Regions from separate parts of the Homo sapiens genome. Here regions 2 and 3 are each linked to region 1. Evidence: promoter capture Hi-C in human tissues and cell types (Jung and others, 2019). All regions are on one chromosome and are shown on one strand. The core of a region is centred on a gene start or on the middle of the fragment in contact, and the rest is flanking DNA. Distances in the headings are between cores, read along the strand shown.

Region 1 (2,700 bases), core at 180-2,679:
CAGGGGGGCTTTGCGGGACATTGTAAGGCTGGGGAAGATAAAGGGAGTCTGACGCACCTGCACTCAAAAACATAAAAATGGTCGGAAGAATTAGCAGGTGTCCACCACCCCACCCCCATCTTCCAAAAAGGGGCTGAGCTCCATCCAGGGGTGAGGCTCCCCTCCTCAGCTCCACGTGAAATGCAATCGGCTTCCGGCTGGGTTCCCTCCTGAGGGTCTAGTTGCATCCATCGGCTCCCCTGTCCCTTCTGAGCCCCCTAACCTGCCAAGGTCCCGCCGAGGATGTGGCCTCCGCCCCCCGCAGCCGCCGCAGGAGCTTCTGCCTCTAAAGCGGCAGGCAGGGGTCTCAGCGGGCCCACTTCAACCTGGGAAGGCCGGTGCGTTTCCCCACAGACCCCGCAGGGCGTTTCTTCTGGGGACCACTGAAGCCCTGGCATCCCCAACCCCAGCCCCTCCGCGCCACGGGAAACGAAGACGACACTCTTTTGAACAATCCCGGATGTGTCACCACAGAGGGGCATTCTACACTGGCCCCTACCCCAACCCCCACCTAGCACATTGCTTGCCCACCCCTCAAACCCCGTGCGGATTGCGGTACCTAGCCCCGGGGGACCCTCCAGCCCTGCCTTCCCGATCCGCGTAGGTGCGTCCGTCCACCTAAGGGTAGGGAGGCATGTCCCTCCGGGTCCCTCCGGCCGCATGGCTTGCCTGCCCCCCTGGTCTCCCTTCTCCGCATCAGGAGGGGCGTGAGATAGCTAGGTCGACCCCCACCCCGGCAGTCTGCGGCGATCGGCCGCCCCGAGCGCAGCGCCAGACACTTGGGTTGGGGGGTGTCAGCCTGACGCGCAGGAAGGGCGCAGCGGCGGGAGGGGGCTTCATTTCAGATCTGGGAGGCTTGCCTGGCGCCGGCCCTCGCCCGCTCTCCGTCGGTGGAGGTCGCGGCTGGCGGAGACCGCCAAGCCAGAGGAGGGGATCCGAGGTCCCGGCTGGGCGAAGGTTCTGGAGGGGGAGAAGACGGCCGAGGCGTGGAGGGGCAGCCGCGGCGGGGCGACCCTTACCTGCTCACTGCGGGGCCTGTCCGTGGGGCCGGGGCAGACTCCGCAAAGGACGCGCAGCCTGCAAGTCCGCGGCCCGCGCGGCGCGGGGATGGGGAGCGTGTGCGCCGAGGAGCGCGCGCCGAGCCGGGTCTCCGCGCCTGTGTGGCCGGCTGGCGGCCGGGGTCCGTGTGTCCCTGCGCGGCGGCGTGTGCGTGTGCGCACGCGGGGACCACGCTCGCCCGGAGCCGCCGCCGCCGCCGTCACTCCCTGCCCGGGGCCGAGCGCAGCGCCCCCTTTGCCCGCCCCGCGCGGCGCGGCAGTCCAGCTTGGCTCCGTCCTGCGGGAGAGGCGCCGCCTCCGCCGCGAAGCCAGGCTGGGCGCTGGAGGGAGGCGACCGACCACCGCCTCCCCCTGCTCACTTCACAGGCTGGGGAGGGGGTGCTGCAGGCCAATGAGCGCCCGGGGGCGGGGTTAGATCGAGGGCGGTGCGGTGGGGGGCGCGGTGGGGGGCGCCGGGCTGCTCAACCCGACCCCACCCGCAGCACAGACTGGAGCAGGAGCTGCGGCGGGAAATCCCAGCGGCGGGGGTCGGGGGCGCTGAGGTGGAGCCCTCAGCCCCCTGTCATCCCCGTCTCCTCTGACTCTGGGCCTCCTGGGCTCACCACCCTCTTTCCAGTCTCTCCATCATAGCCAGGACTAGAAAGCCTTCTTTCTTCTCCCTAGGTCCTCAAGATTTCCTGTGTATCAGAGCCTGTCTTCCCTCTCCTCCAAGAAGCCTTCCTTACCAGGCAAGTCTCAGACCCTCCTTGGGCTCTTCTTTGCCCCTACCGCCCAGGCCTGGGAGGGTCAGCTAGTTTTGGGGTGCCTGTCGGGATGTCCTCCAATGTGACCCCCCCGCCCCCGGAGAAAGACCAGGAAGGGGATGGTGGTGCTTACAGGACAGAGGCAACTTAAAATATCAGACTGCCTGGCTCCAGTCCCTGCTGTGCCACAGCTCTGTGAGCTTGGGTAAGTGGCTCAGCCTCTCTGAGCTTCAGCTTCTTCATCTGCACAAGGGAACAATAGTACCGGCCCCCAGGTCTCTTCACAGCAGCATTAAATAAAAATGGTACACTCACCCCATAGTAGTTTCTCCCTGGTATCATTGATTCGCCGATGCTGAATAAATTACTATTGCTACTGTTATTACAGTCCTGTCCAACCTCCTCCTAGTGCAAATGGCTTAATAAGGAGAACTACACAGGTAAAGGTGGCCTAGCGGGTTGGCAGCGAAGCCCAAACTTAACTGAGAGTAGTTAGTTACCCACTCCCAGGCAAGTTCTCACCCTCTGCCCACCCCACCCAGCCCCCATCCCACAGCTGCTCCTGCCTGCCTCTGCTCTCGGTTTTTGGTCCCTGCCTCAGGCGTCAGTCTCTGAGAGCTCTCAGTTCTGCAGCCAGGCTCTGTTCTTGCCCATTCAAGTAAATTCTCGCTCAGCTTCCCTTTGGGTCCAAGTTCTAGGTATGGCCACCTTGTCCAGGAGGCCTCAAGAAGGGGGAAGGAGGAGGGAGAGCCTTGAGCCTTCCTTTGGGGTCGCCAGTCTACCAAAGAGGAAAGGACCTGTGGATGGAGAGGAATCCATATGGAAACTTGAAAGAAGCAATCTGAGGGCCCAGAAAGACG
Region 2 (2,794 bases), core at 77-2,576, 1.2 Mb before region 1:
AAAAAATTGCTCAAATGCAGTAAATTTTAAAATACTTACCTTTGTGAGAGGGTGGAATAAATTTTTCGACTTCTTTCATTCTTTGTAAAACGATATAATAAGTTTAGAAAGTAGTTACTGTATTGGTTTTGTCCTTTTGCTGCAACTTCTCATACATTCATGATGACGTTAGCAATCTCCTTTATTCTGTTGATGCATTGAATGCTTTTTTCTCAGCTAGAATGAACAGGTGTTTCTTGTTGATTGCTTTAGGCATTTATCCAAGTAGATCACAAATACCCATGTCTGTCTGCTATGTATACATACAACAACCAAGGTATAATGTTTATGGGCATGAAACATGGTATTTAAAATGAGTGAAACCTGTGTTTCCCCTTAACAACCAATCTCTTTTACCCAATACAATGGGTTCATAAGTTATAAGGGACATTAAATATGACTCTATCCAATGATAAGTTATATGGAGACTTTTCGTAGGAGGTAGCCTGCCCTGCTGAGAAGCTTTAGGGGTAAGGTTTCTAGGGCAGTTTTCTGAACAATTCTATTAATGAACTTCCCTGTTTGTTAGCATCTAAATTTAATATCTTTCTGAACATAAAGCCAGCTTTTTATTTATCTTCCGAAATTCCTGCCTCAGCTTTGCCCCTATGGATCCTAGGAAACCAGATTCATTTCGATGCTTGGGGTGCATTTGCATGTTGACAGACAGCACTGTTAGAGGACTCTTGGGGCCAAAGGACGTCCACTAGCTTGGAAGCTGGTGTGTGTGCCTCTTACTAAGTGGATGTAAGCCAATTAACTTCTTTAGGCCTACTAAACTGGATGTTGTTGAGATCCTCTCTAGCTTCATCCAAATATTCTAATCAAAATGATTGAGACATTTGACTTCATTTAGGTGTTGAGGGCAGCCTTGGAAATACAGACACGGAGGGAGTAAAGTTGCTTTTATTCACTTACAAAGACTCTTAAATACAGCCCGATGTCAAAGCATCCAGGGGATTGGCTGTATTGGGGCATATTTGGTGGACACATTGCTTTATTTATTTAAATTGCATCCTCTTTTTTTTTTCTAGTTGCAAATGAAGCTGGAGACAAGAATGCCAGACCACTGGCCCGCTTCTCTCGTGAGTAAATCTTGTTTCACTCCTTTCCTGGTCTCCATCAGAAAATGTTCTCCAGAGATCTTTCCCCCATGCGGTATAGCTCTTCAATTCTGTCAGGTGTTAATAAAATAGTAATGCAGGAAATATCATCTGGTTAACATCCCACTTGAGCCCAGGCTGGTGAGCTACTCATTGCTACTGCCTTTTCAATCCTTAGAACTGTGGTTTCCAAATTGTGCTCTAAGCCTTTGCTATTCCAAGTATGGTCCTCAGAGCAGCAGAATCGACATCACCTGGGGGCTTTTTAGAACCATGAAGCCTCAGTCCCCCGACCACCCCTTCAGACCTATTGAGTCAGAATTTGTATTTTAACACATTTACAGGGGATGCCTGTTCACATTAGAGTTTGAGAAGTGCTGTGCTAGGACTATCCTTTCAATCTTTCAATGAATGTTTTATGAAGATAAAGTGAGGAGAGGTACGTGAAATGCTTGTAGCTATGAAGGCATCATCACCATTCAAAGTGGACTTATGGACTAACTCCACTGGCTTTTCCTCAGTTTGGTGACACTTTGAAGCTTAGATGGATTGAATGGGTTTCCTTAGGCATTGGGGATATTCCTAGGGCTGTGGTTAGGCCATGGGGCTTCCCTTGACTCCTTTGTCTCCAGGTCTTGATCCCTATGAGTAGGAGTCTAAAGCCTCTCAATGGTTTCTGTACCAGTGTGATCAGCAAATTATCCCGCAAGTTAATGCACTTCCTGGAACGAAAACCTGGATTCCAAAGAAGGGGGGGGAAAATACTAGAGACGGATGAGGGTGGAGTGGAGACGCTCCCCAAACCCACTATGCACCAGGTGGAGAAATCGTACAACTGTAAATAGAAACGGATTTATCACTGCCTCACTGGCTTTCACTAAAAGTAATTTCACTCACACTATCTGGGCCTCTGTCTTCGCACCTGGAAAATGTTCAAAATTGGACATTGTTACATTAATTTTTTTTTTTTTGCCTTCCTAAAAGTCACCTCATCGTTCCCTCTCTAGTATTGACTACAAAAAGACTTAGTAGCTGACGTGCCATCTGACTTTTTTCCAGGTCAGTCAAAAATGTTGCTGTCTTTTGAAATTGTGGCCAGGGAGGAACTCTATAAATCCCTAGTCACTGCATTCCTCATGCAGGGTTGACTAGGTCTGAGTGTGGACAGTGCCATAGTAAATCTTATTACATAAAGCTGAAAGTATAATTTCTCTATTTACAGGCTTCTTCTAAACTCTGCCTCCCAGCTCTTTTTGGAAGGCTTTGAAACGTTGGGATTGATTTCCTAGAAATGATTTTTATAGAACTGTAATAATGTACGATAATGAAAGAGCATGAAGTGCTCATATTTTAGAAATTGTGTAATAAAACACTCGCTTCTCATGAGCCCCATTCCTCACTGCCCTCCTACCTGGAATCATTATTTGCAAAATAGATATTTCATCCCACAGCTCAACGAGGTTGAAGAATATGCTTTTATCCCATTTTTTTCTTCATCTCCTGAGCAGTTGTCAGGCAAATAAATAAGCATGAATCGTGACCCAACCACGCTGTGAGGGCTGTGCTGGGTGCCCCTTCCCCCATGGGAGTCCCAGAGGCTCACTACAAGACAGACGAAGGTTGGGGGGAGGGCGGTCCTTGCATGAGAGTTG
Region 3 (2,844 bases), core at 146-2,645, 1.3 Mb before region 1:
CTGAGACCTTGAACAGTTCACTCACCTTGCAGAGCCTCAACTGCAAATGGAGACAATGCCTACATCTAGAGTCATTGTGAGGATTAAAGATATATGAAGTGTCCAGCACTGTGCTTAGGACAGACTGGGGGTGCCATATGTGATGGCTCTTTATCCAAACAAAATCTCCATTTTGGGAAAGGTGGGCCAAAGATATGTGTTCTGAATCTATTTGGTTGATCTGGGAGATGCTATATTCAATCTTGATTTCAGGGCAACGTCTGCTGAGTTGCTGTAATATTGCCAGGCTCCTTGGCATCCCTGATGGGGAGACAAAGGCAACATGTGGACAATGATTTGAGCAAAGTGCTGGAAACAGGCTCCAAGCCTGAAGCTGTTAGTAATCCATCTCGAGTTCCTTTCCACCGGTTTTCGGCATAAAGGACAATGCAAGCTTGAATAATTAGAAAACCCCACATTCCCTTCTGTATACACTAGTTTCAACCAAGTCCTCTCCTGAGCCCTTTGACCAACACTAAAAATAAAGGGAAAAAGAAATAACAAAGCCTTGAAGAGGATATGCTCATTTTTCCTGGGTAGTAGAAGTATAGATGACCATTATTTTTCTCTTATTAATTTTTCAAAAAATTTAAGTGATAACTTGTTAGCATTATTATCAGGAAAAATACTCCCGCAAACTTTCTGAACTAGAAAACTGGACAAATGAATGGAAGTGCTGCCATACCTCTGTGGAAAAGGTAAACCTACATAAAGTGGCCCAAAGCAGGGAGCAGGAGTCTGAGGCACCTCAAGGTCACCTGCACTGGATTAAAAGCTCATCGGCAATTGAGAGGGAGCTCCGAGGTGGTCTCTGTTGAAGAGTACACAGGGTCTATCGCCTCCATAATAGGTGCCCAGTAAACAATGGCTACGTTGATGTATAAATGAGGCCTCTCCTCTGAGCATCTCAGAGCATTTTGCTTTATCAATTTTCCTCAGTGTGAAAGAGCTGCTTAACTTAGGTCTCCCCGAGAGAGATACTATTTACTTTTTATTTATTTATTTGAGACAAGGTCTCACTCTGTCACCCAGTGGCATGATCACAGCTTACTGCAGCCTTGACTTCCTGGGCTCAAGCTGTCCTCCCACCTTAGCCTCCTGGGTAGCTGGGACTACACATGTATGCCACCACACCTGACTAATTTTTTCATTTTTTCTAGAGATAAGGTTTTGCCGTGTTGCCCAGGCTGGTCTCAAACTCCTGAGCTTAAGTGATGCTCCTGCCTTGGCCTCCCAAAGTGCTGGATTACAGGTGTGAGCTGTCACGCCTGGCCAGCAATACTATTTATTAAGTCAATCATTTGACAAAAATTTATTGATCTCCTAGTGCCAGGTACTGGACATGCAGTAGTGACCAAGAAGGCCATGTCCTTGCCCTTGTGGACCACACAATCTAATAGGGAAAATAGGACATGAACAAGCGAATAAAGAAACAAGCTATGTGGAGATTGTGTAAGCGTTGCAGAGGAGATTCACTGTTGATAATGGAGGCCAGTTAGGAGTTCTCACCTGAGGATGTGACTTGTAAGTTGAGACCTGAAGGAAGAATAGTAGTTAGGCAAGCAAGGGGTGGAGTGGGGATGGGGGGTGGAGGATGGGGTTGTGTTCCAGGCAGAGAGAACAACACATACAAAGATCCTGAAGTGGAAGAGAGCCTGGCTTGTTCAAGGAAGAGGAAGGAGGCAGTGTGTCTGGAGCACAGTGAACATGGAGCGTGGTTGGTAAGGTGAAGTTGGCCAGGCAGGTCTGCAGCAGGCAGATCATGCAGGGACTTGGAGGCTGTGCTTCTGAGTTTGGGTTTATTCTGACTGTAGCTGGGAGCCATCACAATGTTTTAAGAAGGGAAATAGTGTACTCTTACTTGTGTTTGATAATATTTCTCTGGTTTTTATTTGGAGAATGGATTGGAGGGAGGCAAAAGTGGAAGCAGGGAGACTGAAAGGCTATTTAACTAGAACCTTAGTGAGACAGCTTTGTACACCACTAGAATGGCAAAAACAAAAAAGGGCACAAAATCAAGCCTTGGCAAGGATGTGAACAATAGAACTACTCTATACTGTGATGAGAGTGGCAAATGATTTAACCATTTTGGAAAACTGTTTGGTAGGATCTACTAAAGATAAATATATACATCACTTTTGAACCAGAAATTCCTCTCCTGAATATATGCTCAAAAGAAATGCCTACATATGTGCACCAAGAGATGTGAAGGAAAATGTTTATAGCAGCCTATTCATAACACCTTCAAACTGGAAATGATCTAAATATTAGCAGTACAATGGATAAATAAAAGGTGGTATGTTCATCTGAAGAAGCACAATTCAGCAGAGAAAAACGGAACTATGTCTATGTGCAAACAACATGGATGAATCTCAGAAACAGAATTTTGAGTGAAAGAAGCCAGACACAAAAGAAGCCACACTACATGATTCTCTTTTTTTTTTTTTTTTTTTTTGAGACAGAGTCTAGCGCTGTTGCCCAGGCTGGAGTGCAGTGACGTGATCTTGGTTCACTGCAGCCTCCGCCTCCTGGGGTCAAGCAATTCTCCTGCCTCAGCCTCCTGAGTAGCTGGGACTACAGGCATGCGCCGCCACCATGCCCGGCTAATTTTTGTATTTTTAGTAGAGACAAGGTTTCACCATGTTGGCCAGGATGGTCTTGATCTCCTGATCTCGTGATCCACCCACTTCGGCCTCCCAAAGTGCTGGGATTACATATGTGATTCTTTTTATATAATTTTGAAATAGAGAAAATGAATCCATGGTGATAGAAACCCAGATAATGTTACCTTTGGGATGGCAGTGA

Evidence for each region. The method cuts DNA at HindIII sites, captures the fragments that hold promoters and counts their contacts. A contact is called where the count stands out against the background at its distance.
Region 2: a fragment that was not itself captured here is called in contact with the fragment with the promoter of ADCYAP1R1 in region 1 in 2 of the 25 tissues and cell types used here (bladder and thymus).
Region 3: a fragment that was not itself captured here is called in contact with the fragment with the promoter of ADCYAP1R1 in region 1 in 1 of the 25 tissues and cell types used here (dorsolateral prefrontal cortex).

What each region holds. Positions count from the first base shown.
Region 1 is chr7:31,051,037-31,053,736 of GRCh38, reverse strand. It overlaps ADCYAP1R1 (ADCYAP receptor type I), which reads right to left and starts at 1,429. Exons shown (of 16, transcript NM_001118.5): 1 at 1,059-1,429. The HindIII fragment of the contact is 8,235 bases long and covers 1-2,700 here.
Region 2 is chr7:32,207,819-32,210,612 of GRCh38, reverse strand. It overlaps a transcript of PDE1C not described here. Among named protein-coding and RNA genes, the nearest start is that of PDE1C, 140 kb to the right of the region's middle. The HindIII fragment of the contact is 5,205 bases long and covers 1-2,794 here.
Region 3 is chr7:32,327,420-32,330,263 of GRCh38, reverse strand. It overlaps a transcript of PDE1C not described here. Among named protein-coding and RNA genes, the nearest start is that of LSM5, 160 kb to the left of the region's middle. The HindIII fragment of the contact is 3,318 bases long and covers 1-2,844 here.